Linked DNA regions of Homo sapiens: regions 1, 2, 3, 4 and 6 are each linked to region 5. The links are contacts of gene promoters, found by promoter capture Hi-C in blood cells and fetal thymus (Javierre and others, 2016). All regions are on one chromosome and are shown on one strand. The core of a region is centred on a gene start or on the middle of the fragment in contact, and the rest is flanking DNA. Distances in the headings are between cores, read along the strand shown.

Region 1 (4,423 bases), core at 482-2,981, 350 kb after region 5:
CTGTAAAACTTCAGGGTTCACAGTACTCTCAGGACAGTCTCCACTCCTGGATCAGCACTGCCAGGCCTCTGTGCCTGATTGGACTCGCTGGTCCCCAAACTTCCCCAGTCCAGTCTCCCCATTGCCCTACGCACACAGCATGTCTATTTCCTTTTGCCTATGCGGGCCTTTTCCCTGGGATCCCCTTCTTGAAGCTTAACTTCACCAACCCATTGTGATCTCTCCTTCCTTTCTCAGATGCCAAGCACGCAGGCACAGTGCTCAGCCAGTGCTTACTGGATTAAATTAAGGTTGGACAGTCCAGTCCTCTACCTCTATTTTCACCAAGAGTATGCTCAGGGAAGGGGTCGGGGAAATAAAGCAGTCATTACTGAGAGGACAATGACTGGCAGAATAGACTTCTGGGCCAGGAAGGGAGGCATAGGGAAGACAGTATTGATGGGGACTGGGACTGACCAAGTCCCAATCCCTCCAGGGAGGCACGGAAGCCTGTTTGAGCTGAGTTAAGACAGTGGCCATCCTGTCTTCTGGGGCTAAGCAGCCAGCCCAAGAGCAAAGGGAGAGGGGAACAAACCTGTCATCCCTTGGGGTGAGTCGGGAAGGGACACAATTCATTGACCTAAGAAGAGGGTGGCCTTTCTAGAGGGACAAGAGGAGGCAGTGATGAGGATGGAGTGACCATCCCATGAGTCCCATCTCAAGGGGGCTACTGGAGATAATGATTGGTCACTCATGGGGTCTATGGGGATGGAAATAGATAGCCCCTAAAGCTAAGGGGGAAAGGGATAGCACTGCAAGCTCAATAGGGGTGGGAACAGGCCTATTTTTGCTAAGGACAGGAGCATCATTCCAGGACCGATGGGAAAGGGTGGCCTGTTTCCCATGGGCAGAGAGAGGGGGCTGCCAACCCTCAGGACAAAAGAGATGGAGAAGCCATTCCAACAGGCCACTGAAGACAAAACCTGTTATCTCCCTGGCAGATGGGGCAGAGTGGTCTTGCCCCTGGCTAAGGGGAAGGAGCAAACATCCCACGGAGTGAAAGAGGTAAGGGCGGCCATCACTAGGGGCCTAGGAATGGGGAACAGGCCTATCCTTGTTAAAGGAACTCAGAGATCATTGCAGTTGATGGGGAGGGAGCAGTCTGTTTCCCACTGCCAGGGAGAAGGGGCGGCCGTCTCTGTAGGAAATGGAGAGATCATCCCAAGGGACCAATGGGGATAAGATCAGTTACCCTTCGGGACGATGAGATGGAGCGGACATCTTCCAGAACTGAGCGGGGAGGAGACAGCCACTTCAAGGGAAGGGGATGGGCAGAGGGCCTGTTCTCGCGGAGATGACAGGGCAGCTATCTTCTGGGGCCGATAGGGAAGGGGAGGACGGTCCCCCAAGCTAAAGGGACAGAGTGGCCCAAAGGAGGAACCGTTACCCAGAGCTAGAAGGTCCCGGGATCGGGAGGGCGGGTCGTTTCCGCCAGGCTGGAGGGGCCGGGCTAGCTATCTGACAGCCCCTCCCCAAAGCTCAGGACCGCGAGGGCGGGGCCTGTCCAGAGCTAGGCCTGAGGGCGGCTTCCTCTCACCTCCAGGGGCAGCGACTCCGCCATCGCATCCCTGCCGCCTCCGCCCCCACTGCGCAAGGCTTTCTGGGAAATGTAGTCTCGCCTCTTTGGGGCGGGGCTTGGGAAGGAAGTGAGACCTATTTCCGTCGCAAAAGCTGACGACTTCGGTCTGCGCCGGAAGTGCATGAGCTGCCGATGTGGTGCTTAGTGATTGCGGTTTCGGTCGCTCTCCCGTGTTTCCCGGGCTGGGTATTTGCCTCGCACCATGGCGGTAAGGAGGATGGATAGGGCGGGGTCCGCACCAGCAAAGCTCTCCAGGGGCTGTGAGAGTGAAAACTGAGAAAGAACATTAAGGGATATGGGGTGGGCCAGAGCGGGGCGCCATCCCTGGCCAGACCGTGCTAGAGCTGGGCTGGGGGGATGGCGGCGCAGGACCATACCAGGACTAGTGCCAGAGCGGGGTGGGCATCAGTACCAGGGCAGGCCAGAGATCTAAGTGACCTGAGGTGGGGGTTAACCCAGATCGGGACTACGCCAGCGGAGGCCTGAGAGAGGCACCATTCAACTCCGCTCAGGAGTACCCTTGGAAGAGTCGTTAGCCTAAAGCCAGACTACCACGGGATCCAGAGGCGGTATTAGCTTAGGATTGAATTGTTCCAGGGCGAGCAAGAGGCGATTGATCCTAGCTGCGGGTGCTGGAGAGATGGCGTCAGCCCTAGGCAGAATGGACTGGAGGATGGGTGGACATCCCAGGGATTTTGCTAGGTTTCTGCACTACGGGGACCTGGCTGAGTTGCGGATGGAGCTCTATAGCTCACCAGGCTGGTGGGGAGAATGAGGAGGACCGTGGCCTCCTGACGGCATCTCATCATTCCTCTGCAGCCCAAGGGCAAAGTGGGCACGAGAGGGAAGAAGCAGATATTTGAAGAGAACAGAGAGACTCTGAAGTTCTACCTGCGGATCATACTGGGGGCCAATGTAAGTGCCTACCTCCTTGCTTCTATGCCCACTTATAGTCAGTTCCCTAGTCCTCAGCCCTGCTTGGTGACGAGGAGTGGTACCCGAAAAAGCTCTAGAAGAGAGCTCCAGTCAAAAAGAAATGAGAGATCTGGGCACAGAGAAAGTGCTAACTAGTAAAACACAAAGAAAATGAAGGCGTGAGTCGTAGCTGAATTTGAGAGCTCTTCCTACCTCCAAGTACACAAAGGCTTCTTTCCTGGGCTGAGTTGGGTGTCAGAGGAGAGTGGGTATTTGGGATTCAGGGAGCAGGGCCCTTTCTTCAACCCTGTAAGAACAACCTTGCTCCTCCCACAGCCTGGCCTAATTCTTGGTCAGAGTTGAGGGAGACCCATGGTTTGGAGGTAACTTCTGACCCCAACCTGATCCTGTGATTGCTTGCAGGCCATTTACTGCCTTGTGACGTTGGTCTTCTTTTACTCATCTGCCTCATTTTGGGCCTGGGTAAGTATCTCCATCCTGGGAGGTGGATGAGTGCGTAGGGTCAGTGGCTGGCCTTTGATACCCTCATTCTTGCTCTGCAGTTGGCCCTGGGCTTTAGTCTGGCAGTGTATGGGGCCAGCTACCACTCTATGAGCTCGATGGCACGAGCAGCGTTCTCTGAGGATGGGGCCCTGATGGATGGTGGCATGGACCTCAACATGGAGCAGGGCATGGCAGAGTGAGTGTCCCCCACCGCCAGCCCAGGTGAGCGGCCCCAGGGCTGGGGCCCAGATAGCCCAAGAAGCACAGCTACTTGTAACTTGAAAAGGGTGGAAGGGAGTTGCAACTTGAAAAGGGTGGAAGGGCCCATATGCTGTCTTTCCAGCTTTATTTCTATCCACAGGCACCTTAAGGATGTGATCCTACTGACAGCCATCGTGCAGGTGCTCAGCTGCTTCTCTCTCTATGTCTGGTCCTTCTGGCTTCTGGTATGTGGGCTGGGGGCGCTCCCAAGAAGGGGCATCTAACCCTCCCCATCTTTTATTCCCTGCATCTTGCTTCAAGTTACCGTTTCTCTTGTAGGCTCCAGGCCGGGCCCTTTACCTCCTGTGGGTGAATGTGCTGGGCCCCTGGTTCACTGCAGACAGTGGCACCCCAGCACCAGAGCACAATGAGAAACGGCAGCGCCGACAGGAGCGGCGGCAGATGAAGCGGTTATAGCCATTGACATTGTGGCCACAGGCCACTGGCCCTGGGTGGCTCTGTCAGGGTGCACAGCCCCTCATGCCTGGAGCAATGAGGGTCTAGTCCAGGGGCCAAAAGCAGTCTGAGGTATTGGGTATACTTATACTCTATAGGGTCGTTGAATAAATGGCTTAGAATGTGGCTGATGGCTGTGTGGGTGATGAGGGATGAGGCAGGAAAAGCTGGTCCTATGGGATTTCCCTCCTGCTACAAACCCAGCCTGGTGGGGACCCTGAAAGAAGAGAAACCTGTTGGATTAGCTAAGAAAATTTTATTTTGCTCCGTGCGTTCAAGGAGCTCACACACATGCACATGCATATGCATGCACACACACACATACACACACACTCACATGCATACACACACGGCTAATACTGCTCAAGGCATGGCTCCTGGGCACAGAGTTCTGGGGCCAGAATTCTGCTCTGGGCCCTCCTCACTCTGTCATCTCCTGCACTGCAGTCCAGGGTCCAGATAGATTTCCGGGATACAGCACCTTCACACCTCCAGGCCAGGACCCTTGCTTAGTCCCAGTGCCTGCACCAGGTCATCTCCGAGCCCACTCTTCAACGTCCTTCTCACTGCAGGGACAGAGCAGGGTTGGAGGGGGTTGATGGGGTTCAGGTGGGCAGTGGGATTGTGGGGGGTTACTTACAAGACTTGCGGTTGCCGCGGGAACGCTTG
Region 2 (4,112 bases), core at 1,353-3,852, 450 kb after region 5:
AGAGGTTGTTGAAAAAAAAGTTTAAGGTCATCTATTTATAAGTGAATTGTCTTCTTTGTTTCAAGATGACCTAGTTTATCAATACGATGGAAAAGTAGAGAGCCATCAAACATACAAACCATCCATATCAAATTTTAAAATAAAGGGCACTACCCTTGTAAAAATATTTTTTAAAGGGTAGTAAATAGTATATAGAATTTTACCTAAAAAGAACCATAAAACAATATCGAATTCTAATTAAAAATTATGCAGGCTGAAGTGATTGGACTGCAATGTACTGATATCTGCAATTTATTTTGAGATGAATTTAAAAAAGACAGATTGATGGACAGATAGGATTGCTAGATGGACATGTGATAAAACAAATATGAGCAAAATGTTGATTGTAGAATGCAGGTGGTGGATATATGGTGCTCACTGTACAATTCTTTCAATCTTTCTGTGTTTATAAAATTGCATTAAGACGTTCGTGGGGGAAAAACAGTGTTAAAGTAAGAGGTGATTACTTAAGAAAGGAAAAGCTCCCTGCTCCAGAAAGAACCTGCATTTCCCATTCTGACAGCTGAGGAAGGAAAATAAATGCATGCAAGAAAGAATGGGATGGGGTCCATCTCTCCCACAGCAATATTCAGACATAAAGAAGAGCAATTATATATGCCACATTTGAGACTAGAAGAGTTAAAGGGGGTAATAAGAGAAATATGACAAATTGTGAAATGATTGCATAACTGACAGAAGCAGAGCCAGAAAAGTCAATCTAATGAGCTAACCTAGAATTCTAAGTCCCAGCCCTTCTAAAAGCCTTTCTACAAGTTCATGTTCAGGCAAAGGCTGAATGTAACAAATGGAGTGACTAAGGGTCTCACATAGACCAGAAAGCATAAATATGCAAGGAAGGACCCTTGATTCTGCTTTCTGTTCTCCTTAAAGGTGGCTGAGAGCTCAATGGGGGTGCTCAGAGTGTGCAGATGTTGGATGCCAAAGAAAACCTACTTCTCGAAGGTGAGCCCCAGTTCTGGTCTCAGTTCCTCTTTTCTTTCTTTCTTTTTTTTCTTTTTTTCTTTTTTTCTTTTTTTTTTTTTTTGAGACGGAGTCTCGCTCTCTAGCCCAGGCTGGAGTGCAGTGGCACGATTTTGGCTCACTGCAAGCTCCACCTCCCGGGTTTACGCCATTCTCCTGCCTCAGCCTCCAGCCTCCTCAAGTAGCTGGGACTACAGGCGCCCGCCACCACGCCCGGCTTTATTTTATTTTATTTTATTTTATTTTGTTTTATTTTTGTATTTTTAGTAGAGATGGGGTTTCACTGTGTTAGCCAGGATGGTCTCGATCTCCTGACCTCGTGATCCACATGCTTCGGCCTCCCAAAGTGCTGGGATTACAGACGTGAGCCACCACGCCCAGCCCACCCTCTTTTCTTGTTAAGGATAGGGTGTGACAAGAGGGTCCTGGCTCCTTCTTACATACATGTCCCATCCACAGGTGGGCTCTTAAGTGCCTGCTGGAGTGAGGGTAGGGGTTAGGGATGCGGCTGTTCTTTCCCAAAGACTACTCAGGGGCTGGTTAGTGCAGAGCTATCGCAGCCTGGCGACAGCCCTCAGTCACAGGCAAGCTTAGGGGAACCTGTGGTGCTTGAAAGACAAAAGGCTTCTTGCCGGACTGACTTCAGGAAACGGGGTAGCCCTAAAGCAGTCATCCCCACCCCATTACAAAGAGCTTCTCTCTTTCCCACGCTGATCCTTCTCCCCCGAAGAAGCTCCGTCCAAGTAAATTTCTTACCTTTTTTTTTTTTTTTTTTTTGAGACAAGGTCTGGCTCTGTCACTCAGGTCGCCCAGGCTGGAGTGCAGTGGTGCAATCTCGGTTCACTGCAACCTCCACCTCCCGGGTTCAAGCGATTCTCCTGCCTCAGCCTCCCGAGTAGCTGGGACTACAGGCCGTGCCACCACACCCGGCTAATTTTTGTATTTTTAGTAGAGATGGGGTTTCACCATGTTGGCCAGGCTGGTCTTGAACTCTTGACCTCAGGTGATCCGCCCACCTCGGGCTCCCAAAGTGCTGGGATTACAGGCGTGAGACACCGCGCCCAGCCCGTCCAAGTCAATTTCTAGAGCTAGAACTTCCTCATGCTCTAAAGACAGGACCCCAACTCCTCAGAGCCAGGATTCCCAACCTTTCAGATCTGGAGCTCCCCATCATGCCTTAGAGTTCTGTCCCCACGCTCCAATCCTTCAGATTTGGATCTCCCCTTCACACACACCCTCGCCTTGCCCCAAAGTCAGCATCCCCCAGCGCTGAGATATGAAGACCACCCCGTCAAAGGGGCACACGCCCAGCCCTCAGAACCGGAGTCCCCCACATCCTCAGAGCCAGAACACTTCATCCCTCAAGACAGAGCGTTATTCTAACTCCTCAGAGCCAGCCCCCCAAATCCTTCCCGGCTGGGGGCCCCTCGCTCTCTCCCATGCCCCAGAGCCAGGTCTCGAACCACTTAGCCCCAATCCTTGGCCACAGCGGCCCCCATTCGCCGCTTTGGTGCTTTTGGCGCCCCCGCCAGAGCGGGCTCCGTACCATGGTCGCGGCTCCAGCAGCGGGCGGGCGGGCTTGTGACCCGGCCAATAACGGTTCCCGGGGTCGCGGCGGCGCGCGCGCGGGGGGCGGGGCAGTGGGCGGGGCCTGGCGTGCGCCGGGTGGTCTCGCGGGCGGTGGCAGGTGAGCGGCGGGCGGGGATGGCGGAGCAATGGGAGCTGGACGAGGAAGGCATTCGCCGCCTGGGGGCGCTGACGCTGGAGCAGCCGGGTAGGGTCTGGCCGGGAGGGTGTGGACTGGGAACGTAGGGTCAGAAGCTGTGGAAAGAAAACTGAAGTGGAAGGCGGGGAACCTGAGATAGAGGCGAGGGAACCACAGAGAAGCGGTACCTGAGGCTGGGGGGCGGGGGGATAACTTGAGGCAGAAGGTTAGAGGGAGGTGGAGGTGGAGGAACTGAAGTAACGGGAGGGTGTGGGGCAGAGCCCGAGGAATTGAGAGAGAAGAGGGGAGTGTGAAGTAGGGAAGGAGAAACAAGGTTAACAGGGGACCCTGCCGCAGGTGACAGAACTGCGGGGGGCGGTGGCTGACCGCTGTAATCCCAGCACTTTGGGAGGCGGAGGCGGGTGGATCACCTGAGCGTGGCCAACATGGTGAAACCCCGTCTCTACTAAAATACAAAAATTAGCCCGGCGTGGTGGTTCAAGTCTATAATCCCAGCTACTCGGGAGGCTGAGGCAGGAGAATCGCTTGAACCCGGGAGGCGGAGGTTGCAGTTAGCCGAGATCGCACCACTGCACTGCAGCCTGGGCGACAGAGCGAGACTCCATCTCAAAAATAATAATAATAAATAAAATAAATAAATAATAAAATGTCTATTAGACATCCAAGTGTAAGGTACCTAGTAGGCAGTTGGATATATGGGTCTGGACCTCAGAGGAGAGGTCAGGGTTAGAGATGAAAATTTTGGAGACATTAGCAATAGGTGGTATTTAAAGCTACGGGAGTGGATGAACTCAGCTAAGGAGAGAATGTCGATGGAGAAGTGAAAGAAAGCTTAAGACTCAACCTTGGAATATTTCAGTGTTTAGAGGTTGTATAGAGGAAGAATGTGGTATCTTGGAATTTGAGAAGGGGTAGTGTATCGAGCAAGCAATGGCCAACTGTGCCAAATGCTATTGACAGGCTGAGCAACTTAAATGCAGAGTGTCTGTTAGATTTAGCAACATGGAACTTACTGGTGACCTTGACAGAGGGAGTTTTGGGAGGGTGGGGAGGAGGGAAACCAGATTGGAGTGGGATGAAAAAGGGAAATGATATTTGAGGGGAAGAGACAGTGAAAGTAAGAACTTTTGCTGAAAATTTTAGCTGTAAAAGAGACTGCAGAAATAGATGGTAGCTGAAGCGTATGATGTGCAGTCAAGAACAGAACAGGAAGGATATACTAGAGCATGTCGGTAGTCTAATGATTAATTTGGTAGAGGGGGGAAATATGTAATATTTACTCATTTTGACTGTTAAAATAATTCAATTAATTTATTCTGTGGGTAATATAATAATTGTACAGTGAGGGCCAGGCGCGGTGGCTCAC
Region 3 (4,140 bases), core at 573-3,072, 320 kb after region 5:
AGACAGGGGGTGCATGCTGAGCCCAGAAAGAGGCTTCTGTGGCCTTTCCGAGTTAGAAAAGCTGTACCAATCGCTTGCAGGGGGCCTTTGGTACCCTGGGCTCAGCACTGAGGAATTCAGGTTTAGCAAGTGAGGCCAACAGACAGTGCCAGCTTGGCCTAGGCAGGACCTACATCTCCTTAGCTGTGTGGAGCCTCAGGGTGGGTGGTATAGGATCCGAGGAAGCCAGGGGGCTGTAGTGGGGCCAGGCTGGACCTCTGTGCCCTGAGCATGGCTTTCTTGTTTTTCAGTTTTGGAACTCCCCAAAGAGCTGTCAGAAATCTTTGATCCCACACGAGGTAGGCTGCTGCATTCCTCCCTGAGGCTAGGGGTAAGGGACACAGCTCATTGGGTCCTATGGCTGTTTTCTTGCCCTTTTGAGGACCTTGTTGTGGCGCTTATGGTAACTGGGGCAAAGGGTGAAGTTCCTGATGGGCAGGTGGGGTTCCCTTTCCTGGGCTTTGGTGGGTGGAGAGGTGGGAGCTGGAATGTTAGTAACTGAGCTCCCTCCATTCCCAGAGTGCATGAGCTCGGAGCTGCTGGAGGAGTTGATGTCCTCAGAAGGTGGGTGGCCCTGGAAGGTGGGAGTGGGTGTGGGCAGGGGTTGGGCTGCTGCTAGGGGAGCCCTGGCCCAGGGCCTGAGACTAGTGCTCTCTGCAGTGTTTGCCCCTCTGCTTCGTCTTTCTCCACCCCCGGGAGACCACGATTATATCTACAACCTGGACGAGAGTGAAGGTGTCTGTGACCTCTTTGATGTGCCTGTTCTCAACCTCTGACTGACAGGGACATGCCCTGTGTGGCTGGGACCCAGACTGTCTGACCTGGGGGTTGCCTGGGGACCTCTCCCACCCGACCCCTACAGAGCTTGAGAGCCACAGACGCCTGGCTTCTCCGGCCTCCCCTCACCGCACAGTTCTGGCCACAGCTCCCGCTCCTGTGCTGGCACTTCTGTGCTCGCAGAGCAGGGGAACAGGACTCAGCCCCCATCACCGTGGAGCCAAAGTGTTTGCTTCTCCCTTTCTGCGGCCTTCGCCAGCCCAGGCTCGGCTGCCACCCAGTGGCACAGAACCGAGGAGCTGCCATTACCCCCCATAGGGGGCAGTGTCTTGTTCCTGCCAGCCTCAGTGTCTTGCTTCTGCCAGCTCCTTCCCCTAGGAGGGAAGGGTGGGGTGGAACTGGGCACATGCCAGCACCACTTCTAGCTTCCTTCGCTATCCCCCACCCCCTGACCCTCCAGCTCCTCCTGGCCCTCTCACGTGCCCACTTCTGCTGGGCCTTTAGCCCTAGAACCTGCAGGTGGTGGGGGCGGCTACCAAGAAGGAACAGAGGTCTCTGGGGAGGAGTCTGGGTGGTCCAGCCCTGATGATTGGCCCCACCTCCTGCTGCCCCATAACCCTCTCTTCATTTCGGCTTTTTCATTTACCCTCATTTAGAGCCATTTGCAGAGATTTAGAAAGATTTACAGTAACGAATGGATTCCTATATAAAGATTATTTTTATACTTTTTGCAGCAAAAGGAAATTGTAATATTTGTACAGTGTTCAAGTGAATAAAAACCATGCCTAAGGCTAGCTCTGATGTGGTTCTTTGGGGACCCTCCTTGGGACTGTGCTGGACTGGCAGTGTGATTGGGTGGGTCACCTTGCTGGAACTAGGGGTGGGGCGGCCTCCGGCAGCCTGCCCTCCCCGCCCCCACCTGCCGCACCTTGGTGTGGGGCGGGGCCGCCTCGGCGGGGCGGGGCAGGCGGAGCCGTCCTACCTTCCTACCCCCAGACTCCAACCCGGAACTAACCTCGGCTCCCTTGGGAAGGCCGCGTTGCATGGCCAGGAGCAGCAGTCTGGGCCGCGAGTGCGGGACACCGAGGTCAGGTCTCGGAAAGGGAGGACCTCCTCGTCCCCAGGGGCCCCAGGCCAGGTGCACCCTTGGCCGCAGGTGCACGGTCTCCGGAAAGTGCAGGCGCCCACGTCCCAGCTGGACCATGGCGCCTCCGCGGAACGTGGTGAAGATTGCCATCAAGATGCGTGACGCCATCCCGCAGCTCATCCAGCTGGACCAGGTCACCCGGCTGGTCCCGCCTCCATCTGCCCCACTGCCCCACCTCCCGGTAGCCCCCTGGCCCTCGGGGCAGCCCGCCCCACCCCTCCCCCCAGGCTCCTCCCCATCCCTCCCTGCCCAGGCCGCGAGAATGACCACTCCACTTGCAGGCGAAGCCCCTGGCCGCTGTGCTGAAGGAGGTGTGCGACGCGTGAGTGCTGCCGGGCCAGGGCCTGCGGAGGGCGGGAGGGCAGGAGGGGCGGCGCCCCCTGCCGGCCTCGCTGAGCCTCGTGCCCCTCAGGTGGAGCCTGACGCACTCTGAGCGTTACGCCCTGCAGTTTGCGGATGGGCACCGGAGATACATCACCGAGAATGTGAGTCCCCTCTCCCCAGCCCCAAGCTCGGCCTTCCGACCCCTCTAACCCACCTGGCCCCGATAACTCTGGCTCTTCATCCCACTACCGGAGCGCGATCTGTTATTCACCCCCAGCCGCCCTCACCGACACCCCAGTTGATCAGTCCTCGGAGCCCTCCCTGACCTCGCTGCCTTTTCTGCTGTCTTCTCCAGAACCGCGCGGAGATCAAGAATGGCAGCATCCTGTGCCTCAGCACGGCCCCAGTAATGCCCCTCCCGTCCCGCCTTCCCCATCCCTGCCCCTTTGCTCCAGGTCCAGAGGCCCCCCGCCCCGGAGGCCCCCGCCCCAGCCCTGCCTTGCGCCACCTAGTTGACGCCCGGGGCCGCACACTTCCAGGTCCCACCCTTACCATGCCCAGCCTCTTCACCTCTGCTCCTGCTCCGTTCCTGCCAGGACCTTGAGGCTGAGCAGCTCTTGGGTGGGCTGCAGAGTAACAGTCCTGAAGGGCGCCGGGAAGCCCTGAGGCGCCTTGTTCCGCTGGCCTCGGACATGATCTTTGCCAGGGAGGTCATCAGCCGTAATGGGCTCCAGATACTAGGCACCATCATTGAAGATGGGGACGAGTGAGCACAGGGATGTGTGGGCTGGGGGAGATGGTGGGTCTTTCTGGTCCTGGGGTGGTCCTGCTCAGCCCCAGATGTCCCCCCTCCAGCCTAGGAGAGGTGCTGGCCCTCAGCCTGAGGGCCTTCTCAGAGCTCATGGAGCACGGCGTGGTGTCCTGGGAGACTCTGAGCATCCCCTTTGTGAGGAAGGTGGGTGGGCTTTCCTAGGGCAGCGGGTGGGGGCAGTGGAGCAGTGGGGCAGTGGTAGACCCGGTCTTCCATGGGGGTGAGGTGGTGACACCCCCGCCCCTTACAGGTGGTGTGCTACGTGAACATGAACCTCATGGATGCCTCCGTGCCTCCCCTGGCCCTTGGGCTGCTGGAGAGTGTGACCTTGAGCAGCCCAGCCCTGGGCCAGCTGGTCAAGAGCGAGGTGCCCCTGGATAGGCTGCTGGTGCACCTACAGGTGTAAGCCTCTGGGGCTGGGGTCCAGATGCAGGGAGCAGGGCTGGAGCCTGAATGTTCCACTGAGCCCTCTTCTTGCCATAGGATGAACCAGCAGCTGCAAACCAAGGCCATGGCCCTGCTGACAGCCTTGCTGCAGGGGGCCAGCCCTGTGGAACGCAAGGTGAGTGTCGATCGGTGGCTAGATGGGGGCAGCACCCGGTGGGCGCTGCCCCACCCTGAAGCAAAATCCTCTAAGCCCCCCTTTTTTTTTTTTTTGAGATGGAGTCTTGCTCTGTCGCCCAGGCTGGAGTGCAGTGGTGCGATCTTGGCTCACTGCAAGCTCTGCCTCCCGGGTTCACACCATTCTCCTGCCTCAGCCTCCCGAGTAGCTGGGACTACAGGCTCCCGCCACCACGCCCAGCTGATTTTTTTTTTTTTTTTTTTTTTTTTAAGTAGAGACGGGGTTTCACTGTGTTAGCCAGGTTGGCCTCCATCTCCTGACCTCGTGATCCGCCCGCCTTGGCCTCCCAAAGTGCTGGGATTACAGGCGTGAGCCACCGCGCCCAGCCTAAGCCCCCTTTCTTTCTACCCCCTCAGCACATGCTTGACTATCTTTGGCAGAGGAACCTTCGCCAGTTCATCTATAAGGTAGGAAGTGGTG
Region 4 (4,549 bases), core at 1,331-3,830, 270 kb after region 5:
TGTTCCCATCCTCCTGGAATGGGGGAACCTTCCTTATCCCCTGCCCACATCCCCTCTCCAATAAAGCACCTGTGCCCTCAGCAATGGCCTGCCATGTGCTGTTGCTGGGATGTTTGTATTAAGGTAAGTGTGGGTATTGGTTTTTTGAGCAAGGGGGTGGTTGAAGCATATGGGGAAATTAATAGTGGTGGCATCTCAGGGGAAGACATTCCTTGGCTCCTCTGAGGGGATACAGCCTCCAGTGGGAGACTGGCATTGTTGTGTGAGTTCAGGAGGTGAGGAAAGACTAGGTAGGACCGTGCACTCATTTGTCCCTTATGTGTGGCTCCATCCCTGGTGCTCAGCCACACCTGGGCCCAGGAGAGGTTGTGGGAAGCATAATATCTGTTTTCAGATGAGCTATGGCAAAGTGCCTGCCAGGTTCATGAATTCAGGCTGTGGCGGCCGGAGCCCCTCCACCTCCCTGTGGGGCCTGGCCTTGAGAGCCTCTGCATACGTCCGCGTCAGCCTAGGGGGTTCCAAATCCAGCAGAGTGGTAGGATTCCCTAAGTCCCTGCCACCACACCAGAACACACCTCTGTGCTACTAGGAGGACCAGACATATCCACTGCTCTGGGACCTGTTGGACAAGAGATGGTCATCTACCACCCAGCCTTGGCTCGCTCAAAGGGTCACCATTACACGGGTTTCAACTGGTTCCAGCAGGGTGGACCGCCAGGAGCCAAGCTTAACCCCCATCCCCTGGGATCCTGTGGAGACAGGCACCTGGTGATCAGGGAAGAACCACATACACGGCAATAATCTGGGAAACCGGCTCCATTCTGGGTCTGAGTTAGGAGCTTGGGGCTGTAGTGGGGAGCTAGGAGTCCCATTGGAAGGGGCCTGCAGCGACAGGCTGTGGATGCGCACAGGCTGGCCCATGCGGCCCGTGCAGCAGGCGCCACATAAGCCAGATGTCAGCGGCCGAGAGCCCGTGCACTACAACCAGCTCACGGTAAAAGCAGGGGTCGAAGGTGCTCAAATGCGGCGCGGCTGAAGGCTGGGGGATGCCAAAGGTGCGGAAGGCAGGGTGAGGCTCGGGCGTGAGCCGCAGGCGCTGCAGACACATGCCCAGAAAGACGTCGTCGATGGGGAAGAGCTCGACCTGCGCACAGGCGCCAGCCAGGCGGTGCAGCGTGGCCCCGGAAAGCACAAAGCCACCGCCGCCCGCGTAGGCCGGATAGGCGGGCAGGCCGTACACGGCCTCGGGGATGTAGTACTTGCTAGCCCGCGTGCGGATGGGCCGCGCATGCACAATTACGTCACCAGCAAGCAGGTCTTGCGCCGGGTCCCGCGGCGCCAGGAACTCCAGGAGATTTCCCACGTTCACGAACACATCTGCGTCGCCCTTAAAAACGAAGCGCACGTCGGGGCAGAAAGCTGAGGCCCAGGCTAGAAAGTGGATCTCCTTGAGCGTTAGGTTAAAAAAGGTGTCGTCGAAGGCCCAGAGCAGGATGTCCGCATACGCAAGGCTCTCGGCCCGCAGCAGGGCGCGCCAGTGGGTTCGCGCGCCCTCCCCAACTTCGTCGGCCCCGCCCGAGCCTGCGCCCCTGGGCACGCCCAGCAAGAACACGCGGCGCACCAGCGCCCCCTGCACGCGACCCTCCGCGCCCCACGTCTGGCGCACGGCTTGGCGCCGCTCGAAGTCCTCTGCCACCGACTTGACAGCAATAAGCAGGTCCGGGCGGCCACCGGGTGCGCCGTCGCCGCGGCACTTGTGCGGCTGGTTAATGAGCAGTGGAAACCGCCGCTGGTCCTTGGCGCGCAAATAGCGGGCGAAGTCAAAGGGTCCCGTAGGCGTGGGCGGCGCCGGTGTGTCCCCTTCGTAGGCCGGCGGGGCTGCACCCGCGTCGGGTAACTGGAACGCGCGGGGTCCGGGGGTGGGCCTCGGTGCCGCCCTCCCTCGCCCTCGCGGCGCGCTCGCCGTCGGGGCCGCGCCGTCGCGCTGCGCATAGAGTAAGAGGCCCAGGGAGGCGCCAAGGAGCAGCGTGAGCAATGCGTCCCTGCGTAGGCGCAGCCTCCTCCTCATCTCCGCGCGGCCTGCGCCCTCCCTCCCCTGTAAGGGTCGCAGTCGGCAGCAGGGGGCAGCGAGCCCCGCCCTCCCCAGCTGAGGGGGCGGGAGGCCACGCCCCGGGGGGGGCTCCAGCGACCGACGGTTGAGCCCCTTGCGTTGTTCTCCTCCTCCCGGCCGTGTCGCACCGCCGGGACCGGCAGCCTGAAGGGACAAGAAGTTCACCCATGTAGCCAACTCCCCCGCGGCCTCAGCTCCGGCCCAGGACTGCGACCCAGGGCCGGGCAGGGAGACTGGGAGCCTCGGCCCCTCCCCCGCCCGCCTCCCTCGCGCTGAGGCCGAATCCCTTCCACCCTGCCATCCCCTCAATGTCGGGCCCTGGGGTCCCGACACTCACGCTCGGCCCTCGGAAGTGGCGCAGCCCCGGACGCCCTGGCCTCCGGGGCTCAGCGCAGGGTCCGAGGGGCCGCCATGGACCGGGCCCGAGCCAAATGCAGCGTTGGCAGGAAGGGGGACCGGTGCCGTGCCACGTGACCCTCCAGCTGTGCGCGCCCAGACTTCTGGAGCTCAGCTCCGCCCCGGCGCCAGGAGCACTCCGGCCTCAGAGTGGGGACTAATCCCTGAGAGGGAGCCTCCTCACTCTCAGTCCCTCTGGGAAGGGCTGGTCTGGGTGCTCACACCCCAAATTCGCCTTTCTGGGGATTGGGAAGAAGCATCAACTCCCCTGGTTAGCTCCCCCAACTATCCACTCCCCACTCCCGCGTCTCTGGAGTGGGGCGGAGCCTGGGCTGCTAGGAGCCCCTGAGCAGGCCGGTTCCAAATGCGCATGAACCTGGCCACCATCCCGGGCGGGCCTCTCCTCAGCAGCCCTGATTCCATCAGGCAGGGTGCATACGCTGCCCCCGAGACACATGGCTGTCTTCTTACTCCTGGTTCTGCCATGCTCCCCACCCCCAGTAAACACACGCACGGGACAAACAAGGCAGCCCACCCAATCCTCAGGGCAACTCTGCCAGCAGCTCTCATTCATGCCCAGATGGGGACACTGGGGGGCTCTTCGGGGAGTTAAGTGACTTGCCCAGGATCCAAAGGCCAGAAAGCTCTGCCCCCAGGTCTTCTGAAATTCAGGCCAGGATTATTTTATCTGTCCTTGCCCCGCTCATTCATCCACTGGGATACAGAACAGGGGGCCAACCCAGTCTGCTTTAATTTCACAGGCAAGCACTTCAGCCTGTCTCCCCGGGGGCTAATGGACCTGAGCCCAAGCCAGGTGCAGTTCTGAGTCCCCTGGTCCCCAGCATAGCCTACTGCAGGTAGAAATGATCAGGCCTGTGCAGCTGCAGGTCAGACAGGGCTGGCAAGGATGGGGACAGCTTGGGAAGACTCCTGGCGGAGGCCTTGGCTAAAGGATTGCTCTGGGATGCAGGTGGACAGAGGTGCTCTGCAATGGAGAGCTAAGTCCTTGCGCAGCTCAGCTGCCAGCTCTCTCTTTCTTGGTCCCAGCCCATGTGGTGGAGCCTGGAATAGACAGCCTCTACTGGTCTCTTAAGAACCCAGCCCCATCCTCTGTCCAAGGGCTATATCTGCTCCTGACGGCTTCTTCCCACCAATGTTCAATCTTAAAAAGCCACCTCTCTGGCTGGGTGTGGTGGCTTATGCCTGTAACCTCAACACTTTGGGAGGCTGAGGTGAGTGGATCACTTGAGGTCAGGAAGTCAAGACCAGCCTGGCCAACGTGGTGAAACCCCCATCTCTACTAAAAATACAAAAATTAGCTAGACATGGTGGTGGGCACCTGTAATCCCAGCTACTTAGAGGGCTGAGGCAGGAGAATTGCTTGAACCTGGAAGGTGGAGGTTGCAGTGAGCCAAGAACACACCACTGCACTCCATCCTGGGCAACAGAGCGAGACTGTCTCAAAAAAAAAAAAAGGCCAGTCGTGGTGGCTTACTCCTGTAATCCCAACACTTTGGGAGGCCAAGGCAGGTGGATCACTTGAGGCCAGGAGTTTGAGACCAGCCTGGCCAACATGGAGAAACCCTGTCTCTATTAAAAATACAAAAATTAGCCAGGTATGGTGGCACGTGCCTGTAATCCCAGGTACTTGGGAGGCTGAGGCAGGAAAATCACTTGAACCCGGGAGACGAAGGCTGCAATGAGCCGAGATCGTGCCACTGCACTCCAACCTGGCAACAGAGTGAGACTCTCTCCAAAAAAAAAAAAAAAAAAAAAAGCCAAATCTCCACCCTGAGCCTTACTCTTTTTGGTCACAAAGTAATCAGGAGTCCTCTGCTCCAGCTTTCTCCGCGGCCTCACCTTCCATTCCCTCCTGTGATAAAGCTTCGGGCTGCCTCCACCATGACTCAGAAAGACCCCTGACTGGTAAGCTCCTTTTAACTGAGTCCAACAGACACTCCTCGGTCTTGACTACCCGCTCCATTATAGTGGGTGGGTAATCCCCTGGTTTCCAAATCTCCTGGTTTTCCTCCTTCCTCTTTG
Region 5 (4,124 bases), core at 1,514-4,013:
CTCTACTAAAAATACAGAAATTAGCCGGGTATGATGGCACATGCCTGTGGTCCCAGCTACTTGAGAGGCTGAGCCGGGAGAATCGCTTGAACCCGGGAGGCGGAGGTTGCAGTGAGCCGAGACCACACCATTGCCCTCCAGACTGGGTGACAGAGTGAGACTCCATATCAAAACAAAAACAAAAACAAAAACAAAAAAAACCTGCCAATCGAGCTATGCTTTCCCTTTCTCGAAGGAGAGAGAAGTAATCCTTTTCCATCGTATTTGCTTATAAGACCTTGGGACAAGGAAGCCTTGAGAGATCCGGTGAGGGACTTCGGCTGGCCATCCTATATAGGGTGACTGAACTGGTTATAGCCTTGAAATGAAAGTTCCAATGCACATAAAATCCTCCAGGGTGCATTTTTACTTTGGAAGTGGGTGTGTGTGGTAACTTAGAAAAACTCAGTGGTTTCAGGCTTGGTGGAATGATGTAATTTTTCTCAGGAAAGTGGCGGGGGCCGCCATCTGTGTGTCTCAGCAGTCAGCCCAGGGCCTGACACATTGTGGGCACCCATAACACCTGCAGATTGAATAATTAAACACTGCTGCCTCTGTCCGGAAGGGTAACCCGTTGTGACCCTATATGACCTGTCTGCTGGGGGGAGGGAAGAAGTGTGCTTTTGCATTCTCTTGCACTCATTTATTAGAAACCCTTAGACTTTTTTTTAGTTTGGGTCTGAAACAGTCCTCTTAATATGCAGGAAGAGAGATATTGCCAGTCCTGACTTTGAACTTCTGGAAAGGGCTAAGGGTGAGTGGAACTATAAATATACAAGGGCAAGTCTGACATGAGCAGTTTTATTGTGACCACGTCCTTGGGTCCAGGAGGCTGGCCAGGCTGCCCAGGTAAGCCAGGGTGTCTTCCTTCTGGAAAACCACACTCTCAGGGCTCCAAGTGGCTTTTTCTGGTTGTCTCCCATTTTTCTCTGTCTCCAGGGAAGGACTCCATCTGACTTACCATAGTTACAAGAGTTCTGTGAAAATAATTTATAAGGAAGCAGGTCATCACTGGAATGCCACAATGTTAGGACCAGAAGGGACGGAGGGATTATCTGGTGTCGGGGTTCGCTGTCTCTCTCAACCTACCAGCCGCCAGCCGTGCTGAGTTAATTGTCAGTAGCAGGCCAATATAATGGTCAGTTCAAAGCTTAATGGTTTGTGGGAAACCACTAAAGACTTTAGGGCAGGAGGCCGGGCGCGGTGGCTCACGCCTGTAATCCCAGCACTTTGGGAGGCGGAGGCGGGCGGATCACGAGGTCAGGAGATCGAGACCATCCCGGCTAAAACGGTGAAACCCCGTCTCTACTAAAAATACAAAAAATTAGCCGGGCGTAGTGGCGGGCGCCTGTAGTCCCAGCTACTTGGGAGGCTGAGGCAGGGGAATGGCGTGAACCCGGGAGGCGGAGCTTGCAGTGAGCCGAGATCCCGCCACTGCACTCCAGCCTGGGCGACAGAGCGAGACTCCGTCTCAAAAAAAAAAAAAAAAAAAAAAAAAAAAGACTTTAGGGCAGGAATTTGAGGGTTTTTTTGGTTTGTTTTTGTTTCTGTTTTTGTTTTTTTTGAGACAGACTCTCACTCTGTCTCCCAGGCTGGCGTGCAGTGGCATGATCTCACCTCAGTGCAACTTCCACCTCCCTGGTTCAAATGATTCTCATGCCTCAGCCTCCCAGGTAGCTGGGACTACAGGCGCGCACCACCACTCCCAGCTAATTTTTGTATTTTTAGTAGAGACGGTTTCGTGATGTTGGCCAGGCTGGTCTCAAACTCCTGACCTCAGGAGATCCCCCCGCCTCGGCCTCCCAAAGTGCTGGGATTACAGGCAGGAGCCACCGCACTCGGCCTTGGAATTTGAGTTTTAGAAGTGTCATTCTGCCAGGCGTGATGGCTCACGTCTGTAATCCCAGCACTTTGGGGAGGCTGAGGTGGGAGGATTGCTTGAGCCCGGCAGTTTGAGACCAGCCTGGGCAACATAGAAAGACCTTGTCTCTACCCACCAACCACGAGAAAAGGTGGGAGGGGCGTCATTCTGGCTGCTCTGCTCTGTGGTTAGGACCAAGTCAAAGGTGGAGGAGGGAAAACCGTAAAATCAAGTGAGAGGCTTGGAATAGGGTGGCTGCGTCGCCGGATGGATGAGTGGAGAGAGATTTAGGAGATAGGATTTACAGCATTAGATAACTGGAAAGAGAGGGTGAGGGAGAGGAAGGAGTCAAGATGCCTCCCAGGGTTTTGGCTTGGGTCTCTGGGCAGATGGTGGGGCCATTACTGGGTTAGGAGAGAAGAGAAAAAGCAAGTTTGGCAGAAAGCTGAGTTTGGGGTAAGTTATGTTTGAGGCGCCTGGGGGCCTCCAGAGGCAGGTGTCCAGGTGGCTGGACATCAGGGTGTGGCGCTCAAGAGAGGGTTCTGGAGTGGTCGACACCGAAGTGGAGAGGAAGCAGTGAGGTGTTCTAACAACGGTGAGGAATTGGGGAGGCCGCTGGGTTCGGGGTATGCAGAGTGTAGCGGCCACGTAGCTGGCGATCTCAGGCACGTGACTGCCTGGTCCTGTGGCCCCGCGCTCGAACACTTTCAGCACCCAGGCAGGGGGTAAGGGGCGGTGTTGCCCCCTCCCGGGTCCCGCCTTTCTGCCCGCCTCTCATCCTCTTTAGCCATTGGGCAATACCTCTGTCCATCAAGGGCCCGCCTCCGCAATTGAGCCAACCAGGGCTGGCGGGAGGGCGCTTCCTTCTGGAGCTGGGTCCTGACTAGGGACCGCCTGGGTGAGGTGAGGACCTGGTGGCCGCAGTTGTGGCACTGTGCGCAGGCGCTGAACTGACCGGACGGAGCGGGCGGCTGTGGCCTCGCCAGCTGGTGAGAAGCGGGCGAGGGTCCGAGGTAGGGAAGGTAACGAGCGGGGGATGTGGACACCTCTTTCCCCGCCAGGCCTCGCCGGCGCCTGACCCTCCCGGCCTGCGGCACCGGCTCAGGTGACTGGGCGGAGGGAGAGCTGAGGTGAGGGGGCGGGTCCGCGGCGGAGAGGGACCAGCTGGGCCTACGACCACGGTCACCCCACTCACGTGCGCGCGCCACGTGGGCCCGCGGGCTCGCCGAGGACCCTTGGCTGCCTACCGGGGCACCCCACTAGCTGCTCTGGCCTATCGAGCACCCCTTGGAGCTCTGTGTCCCGACTGCACGCCCCTGTTTTACAGGCTGGCAAGCCGGGGCTCAGAGGCACCAAGCGGGTCGCCCGGGGGCACCCAGCTGGGGTACGGCCGTGCCGGGGTTCTAGGGAGATCGGTTTTGGTGGGCTCCGGAGTCCATGCACTTAGCGATGAGGCTGAAGTCAGAGATTTGAACTTGGGACCTGTCTGTTTTCTTTAAGGATGCAAGAGGGTTTGCGTCCTGGCTGCGGTGTATCACCCTGCACCGCTGCCTGCCTTGACTGCAGGGCCGGAGCGTCAGGCGCCCTCTGCTCCCGGACAGACCGCCCCCGCACCGACTTCTGCGGGGTGGGCTGGCAGGGGGTGGGGGAGTGAAGGGACGGTCCTCAGTCCTGGGAACTCTTGAGGTCCCGACAAATGATCTCGAGATCCCGAGGGCAGGATTCATACATGAAAAGCTCATTATAATGGGTCAAGGTTTTGTTCTGTTTTTTTTTTTTTAATTTAATTTAATTTAATTTAATTTAATTTAATTTATTATATTCCAAGGAAAAGTACCACCAGGGCTAGTGAAGGGACTAGGAAACTCGTCACCCCCTTGAGGAGGCAGATGTGAAGCTTTTGGAAATCAGTTTGGCAATGAGTCTACACCCTTGGACCTACTGACTCCTTGTTTGGGAAATAACTAGGATAAAACCTAAGTAGAGAAAAGGTTACTGCATAAAGCAGTACAGTTTGGTGGGGTTTTGTTGTTGTTGTTGTTTTTAAAGAGACAGATCTGGCTCTGTCGCCCAGGCTGGAGTGCAGTGGTGTGATCATAGCTCACTGCAGTCTTGAAATCTTGGGCTCAAGCGATCCTCCCACCTCAGCCTCTTGAGTAGCTGGGACTACAGGCACTTACCACCATGCCCAGCTAATCTAAAAATTTTTGTAGAGATGGGGCAC
Region 6 (4,385 bases), core at 938-3,437, 290 kb after region 5:
GTAGTCCCAGCTACTCAGGAGGCTGAGGCAGGACAGTCGCTTGAACTTGGGAGGTGGAGGCTGCAGTTAGCCAAGACAGTGCCATAGTGACATAGTGGGTGACATAGTGAAACTGTCTCCAAAAAAAAGAAAAGAAAGAAAGAAGGAAAGAGAGAGAGAGAGAGAAAGAAAAAAGAAAGGAAGAAAGAAAGAAATAAAGAAAGAAGAGAAAGAAGCATGGATATTGATACTTGCATAGGGAGGGGAAGGGTCCCAAAGCCCCAGCTCCACCACCCAAACTTCAGGTCCCAGGTAGGAAGCAGAGGCACTTTCTCTGTGCCATTTATGGCAGGAGTGGGGAGGTTGGGGGTGGAGAGAGGATGGGGATCCTCTCCTATCATTTTCTAAAGATTGGGGGATTAAAATCTTGATGCATCTGGGTTCCTTGGGAACTTAATGCGGGGTGGACACTGCAGGCCAAAAGCAGTTCTGTCTGCACAGGGGGCCTCTGGGCCTGGAAAGCGGGGACAGGAGCCCAGAGAGTCTGCTGCCTCCGATGCTGCTTCAGCCCCCTCAAGAAAGTGTGGAACCTGCAGGGCCTCTAGATGTGAGTACCCCTTCTGCTGAAACAGGGGCATGAGACCTGGTGGGGTCTAGCTCTCTGTGGAGCCTGGGGAGGGCACCACTGACCCAGAGCTCTCCTCAGGTGCTGGGCCCCAGTCTCCAAGGGCGAGAATGGACCCTGATGGACTTGGACATGGAGCTGTCCTTGGTAAGAAGTGGGTCGGGGAGGGCAGAGGCCAGGGGTGGCTGAGTCAAGCCCTCTGGTCCATAGCTGTTCTCTGTGAGCCAAAGCCGTGTCTCTAGAAGAATTGTCACAGTGATTTCCCAGCTGTCCCCCTCAGCTGCTAGGTCCCCTCCCCAGCTGCTCCCTGCGGTTCTCACGCAGATGCAGCCCTTGGTTCCAGAGCGGGGTGAGCCTGAGCTGGCGGTCAAGGGGTTAAATTCTCCAAGCCCAGGTAATGGTTGTGATGACTCCTACCTGGGAGGACGCCGTGATTGGGCTGAGCTACCTTGATTGAGTGAGGGGGCAATCTGCAATTTGCAGGGAAATCCTGAGTTCAGGCTGCACTGCAGAGCGTTCCTTGAGCCACCCATGCCCTCACCATTGGGCGAGAGTGGGGAGGTTAAGAATGGATGTTTTATCCTAACTGAGCAGAAGGCAGGCGGGCAGGGCTCTCCTTCCCTGAAGAAAGGAGGGGGAACATTTCCCCTGGTGAGCGCAGTCCCACTTCTCCTAGGGAAGGACCCCACGCTCGGGGCCCCACTCCTGCTGGATGTCCAGGCGGCCTTGGGAGGCCCAGCCCTGGGCCTGCCTGGGGCTTTAACCATTTATAGCACTCCTGAGAGCCGGACTGCCTCCTACTTGGGCCCGGAAGCCAGTCCCTCCCCCTAAGACCCCGCGCCTCTGAAGGGGCTTGGAACCAGTCCGCCGCTGCACATCCTTCTTGGCTTCCTGGCGCCCCCTATCGGGGGTGAGCGAAGCCCCCACTACTAAATGGCCTCTCTCCACTACCCCGACTATCCCTGCACATAAACTCCGTTTTTTTTTTTTCTGTTTCTGGTCTCTTTTCTCTATCGACCAGGGAGCACAGGAGTTATGGGTGGGGGGTGATTTTGCATTTGTAGAAGCGTCCAGATACTAGGTTTTTAATAGAGGAACCCCAGGAGGGTGGAGGTGCTTGGGGATCCGGTGCCTAGCTCCCTTGCTTAGGCCCGGGTCCAGGGCTGGCGCGGGGCCGCTGCAATCTCTGGGAAGCGGGGGCTTCTGGGTCGCGCTCAGCTCTGCAATGCATGCGTTCTGTGATCCTGGTGAGTTGGTATCCTTCTCTGAACTTCCTCTGTGACAGGCAGAGAAGAGGGGTCGATGACAAGATAGATGGAAAGCACCTGGAAATTGGCAGGCCCTGAGTGGGCGCTGGACGTGTGGGGCCGCGGGCCGAACTGCCCCCTCCTGGCCTCATCTCCTGGTGCGCCCCGGGTGGGGAGGGAAAGCTGACTACATGCACGTCCCCAGCCAGCGCGCGGCCTCCGCGGTGTGGCTCCTAGTGCCCGGGGAAGAACCCTCACCCTCCCTATTCCCAGCAGCCCTGGCCGCCCCGCCCCCGCCGCAGCTGCTGCACCCACCCCCACCCTGCCCGGCCCTTTCTGCACCGTCATCTCCTGCCCCGCCGAGGCTTGACCCGTGAGTGGGGACGCCCAAAACGGGCCAGACCGGGAGCCCCACTCCCGGCTGTGGGAGGGAAGGGAAACCGAGATTGGGCAGAATCAGCGCCCCACCACCCGCTGCGGCGCTCGGGGGTCGGGGGGGCGGGGTGGGTAGGACTGTGGGCCCCGCCCTGCCGCAGGACTCTCAAGCTCTGGGACTGGGTGGAGGGAGGTAAGGGGCGGGGGGGGAAAATCCGTGCAGTCGCACATGCGCAAAGGCTCTTCACTGTCCCAAGACCCTGGCTTCCTGGCCAAAGAGCCCGCGCAGCGAGGTGGGGTTGGGGGCTGGGACCCAGCTCCGTGCCCCGCCACCTGGCTCTCTGGGAAGAATCGGACCTGTCACCCTCGAAGGACTGGCCGCTAAATAACTTCGGTATTGAGAGCTGTGTGAGCCTCAAAGGGAGGGCCCAGACCAGCTGGAGTCTCTACCCCCAGACAGGATAAAGGGCAGGACTTGGGGTCATAGGAGGAGGCGGCTAACATGAAAACAACTTAGGTTGGAGAGAAGGAGGGGCCAATCCAATCTGCACCCTCCCTGTGTCTGTCCCGAGTAGGTGCTGTCCCCCTCTCCCTTCCTTTGCCCACCGATTGGAGGGACACTCTGGAAAACTCAGTTGAAGAAAGCGGAGAGTCTGCGTGTACACAGTGCAATGATGTCAGTTAATGCACTAGTGAGGGCATGTGTTGTTCACGGTACACAGAAGAAGGAACCACCAGCCCTTGGGACACTTAGGCATTGGTGTAGACAAGGGAACATTTGAGTCCTGGACGATGGATAGGTCCACGGAGCGGAGGGAGGAGAAAAGGATTCCAGTCTTAGCGATCAGCATCAGCAAAGGCTCCGAGGTGCCAGAGGCATAGTGAGTTCTCCGATCCCTGGCTGGTGGAGGGAAGCTGGGAAGGGCCTGGCTGTCCAGGGTGGTGGGAGGAGGCTAGAGTAGCCAGACCAGATATTTTGGGTTGTCTCTGATGGGCAGTGGGGTGTGGGGGGGAGGTAGATAGGTATTTAGGATGGAATTCTGCTAGACAGGAAAATATAGTTCAGTTCCTCATAGTTCAGGCTGGAGCAAGTAAGATTCCAGTTTTACCACTGAATCTCTGAGCCTGTCTCCTCATCTGTAAAATGGGAACAGCAATCCTAGCCCAGAGGGTTGTCAAAGTCACTGTGCTATCGGGCCTGGCAGAATGGGAGTGAGAGGGGCTCAGAGGGACTGTTACAGGACATGAGGTGACGATGGTGGGGTGGCAAGGCAGGAGCTGATGGAGACTCACTGAGAAGTGGAGAAGCAAGATTCATCACATACGGGACATAAAGGGAGATGGAGGGGCAGGGGGTAGTCCTGGTCTCGGCCTGGTGGGGAAGGGCTTCAATGGGAGGAAGCCAGGGTGTGAAGTGACGGGGGAGGTATAGTGTGACACCAGAGGGTACTGAGAAAGACCTGGGAGGCAGGATGGCGGCTAGGACTAAATCCTCTCTCCCAGAGAAGGCCGAGCCTCCTAGAGCCAGAGAAGGAGGCAGAGGAGGGACAGCAAAGGGAAGAAGAGATGGGAGGATGCCGTGTGAACAAAGCCAAGGCGGGGAGGAGAAGAAGTTATTATCAGGGTGGGGGTGGGCTGAGGGCATGGTTCAAGGCCTGATGTCTTTGCCTCCTAATGCCGGGGGTCTTGCTGGCTGGGTCAGGCCACTCACAGGAATGGGCCATAATCCTTGGTTGACAATAAATGGACAAAGCAGCTGGGTGCGGTGGCTCATGCCTGTAATCCCAACACTTTGGGAGGCCAAGGTGGGTGGATCACGAGGTCAGGAGTTCGAGACCAGCCTAGCCAACATAGTGAAACCCCGTCTCAACTAAAAACACAAAAAATTAGCTGAGCGTGGTGCGGGCACCTGTAATCTCAGCTACTCGGGAGGCTGAGGCAGAAGAATCGCTTGAACTCAGGAGGCAGAGGTTGCAGTGATGAGAGAATGTGCCACTGCACTCCAGCCTGGGCAACAGAGTGAGACTCTGTCAAAAAAAAAAAAAAAAAATGGATAAAGCAGATTGACTCTCCCTAATAGCCGCTGTTGGTAGAGATAGTCTCTCAAGAGCCAGGCATGGTGGTTCACATGGTGGTTCACAAAGTGCTGGTAATCCCAG

Evidence for each region. The method cuts DNA at HindIII sites, captures the fragments that hold promoters and counts their contacts. A CHiCAGO score of 5 or more calls a contact.
Region 1: a contact is called between the fragment with the promoter of TMEM208 here and the fragment with the promoter of PDP2 in region 5, in 12 of 17 cell types (naive CD8 T cells, total CD4 T cells, activated CD4 T cells and 9 more). The highest score is 11.7, in naive CD8 T cells.
Region 2: a contact is called between the fragment with the promoter of KCTD19 here and the fragment with the promoter of PDP2 in region 5, in 3 of 17 cell types (M1 macrophages, M0 macrophages and total B cells). The highest score is 6.1, in M1 macrophages.
Region 3: the fragment with the promoter of ELMO3 here is called in contact with the fragment with the promoter of PDP2 in region 5 in 8 of 17 cell types (M0 macrophages, activated CD4 T cells, M1 macrophages and 5 more); the score reaches 8.2 in M0 macrophages.
Region 4: the fragment with the promoter of B3GNT9 here is called in contact with the fragment with the promoter of PDP2 in region 5 in 12 of 17 cell types (erythroblasts, M0 macrophages, endothelial precursors and 9 more); the score reaches 11.8 in erythroblasts.
Region 6: a contact is called between the fragment with the promoter of NOL3 here and the fragment with the promoter of PDP2 in region 5, in 3 of 17 cell types (megakaryocytes, endothelial precursors and M0 macrophages). The highest score is 6.0, in megakaryocytes.

Annotation. Positions count from the first base shown.
Region 1 is chr16:67,225,399-67,229,821 of GRCh38, forward strand. TMEM208 (transmembrane protein 208) reads left to right here and starts at 1,732. Exons shown (of 6, transcript NM_014187.4): 1 at 1,732-1,826; 2 at 2,438-2,533; 3 at 2,957-3,016; 4 at 3,097-3,233; 5 at 3,399-3,483; 6 at 3,578-3,880. The coding sequence starts at 1,821. The coding sequence ends at 3,715. It overlaps FHOD1 (formin homology 2 domain containing 1), which reads right to left. Exons shown (of 22, transcript NM_013241.3): 21 at 4,395-4,423; 22 at 3,991-4,320. The coding sequence ends at 4,238. It also overlaps the pseudogene FBXL9P. RefSeq lists an enhancer at 1,535-1,884. The HindIII fragment of the contact is 11,037 bases long and covers 193-4,423 here.
Region 2 is chr16:67,324,139-67,328,250 of GRCh38, forward strand. KCTD19 (potassium channel tetramerization domain containing 19) reads right to left here and starts at 2,603. Exons shown (of 16, transcript NM_001100915.3): 1 at 2,567-2,603. The coding sequence starts at 2,569. LRRC36 (leucine rich repeat containing 36) reads left to right here and starts at 2,677. Exons shown (of 14, transcript NM_018296.6): 1 at 2,677-2,794. The coding sequence starts at 2,725. RefSeq lists an enhancer at 735-814 and a silencer at 2,570-2,719. The HindIII fragment of the contact is 1,968 bases long and covers 1,608-3,575 here.
Region 3 is chr16:67,197,309-67,201,448 of GRCh38, forward strand. It overlaps ELMO3 (engulfment and cell motility 3), which reads left to right and starts at 1,823. Exons shown (of 20, transcript NM_024712.5): 1 at 1,823-2,096; 2 at 2,245-2,285; 3 at 2,376-2,448; 4 at 2,643-2,693; 5 at 2,884-3,053; 6 at 3,143-3,242; 7 at 3,349-3,500; 8 at 3,582-3,660; 9 at 4,077-4,127. The coding sequence starts at 2,019. It overlaps E2F4 (E2F transcription factor 4), which reads left to right. Exons shown (of 10, transcript NM_001950.4): 8 at 291-338; 9 at 559-603; 10 at 700-1,610. The coding sequence ends at 815. RefSeq lists a silencer at 1,159-1,218. The HindIII fragment of the contact is 7,654 bases long and covers 1-4,140 here.
Region 4 is chr16:67,148,418-67,152,966 of GRCh38, forward strand. B3GNT9 (UDP-GlcNAc:betaGal beta-1,3-N-acetylglucosaminyltransferase 9) reads right to left here and starts at 2,581. Exons shown (of 2, transcript NM_033309.3): 1 at 2,448-2,581; 2 at 1-2,254. The coding sequence starts at 2,068. The coding sequence ends at 860. PHAF1 (phagophore assembly factor 1) reads left to right here. Exons shown (of 16, transcript NM_025187.5): 16 at 1-127. RefSeq lists silencers at 1,937-2,366, 2,377-2,536. The HindIII fragment of the contact is 3,664 bases long and covers 725-4,388 here.
Region 5 is chr16:66,877,752-66,881,875 of GRCh38, forward strand. It overlaps PDP2 (pyruvate dehydrogenase phosphatase catalytic subunit 2), which reads left to right and starts at 2,764. Exons shown (of 2, transcript NM_020786.4): 1 at 2,764-2,889. RefSeq lists enhancers at 278-327, 2,478-2,557, 2,806-3,578 and a silencer at 3,038-3,217. The HindIII fragment of the contact is 2,608 bases long and covers 1,188-3,795 here.
Region 6 is chr16:67,168,351-67,172,735 of GRCh38, forward strand. It overlaps NOL3 (nucleolar protein 3), which reads left to right and starts at 2,188. Exons shown (of 4, transcript NM_001276309.3): 1 at 2,188-2,224. It overlaps HSF4 (heat shock transcription factor 4), which reads left to right. Exons shown (of 13, transcript NM_001374675.1): 10 at 481-586; 11 at 686-751; 12 at 929-998; 13 at 1,281-1,591. The coding sequence ends at 1,435. RefSeq lists enhancers at 1,245-1,294, 1,785-1,934 and silencers at 2,145-2,434, 4,075-4,238. The HindIII fragment of the contact is 13,408 bases long and covers 1-4,385 here.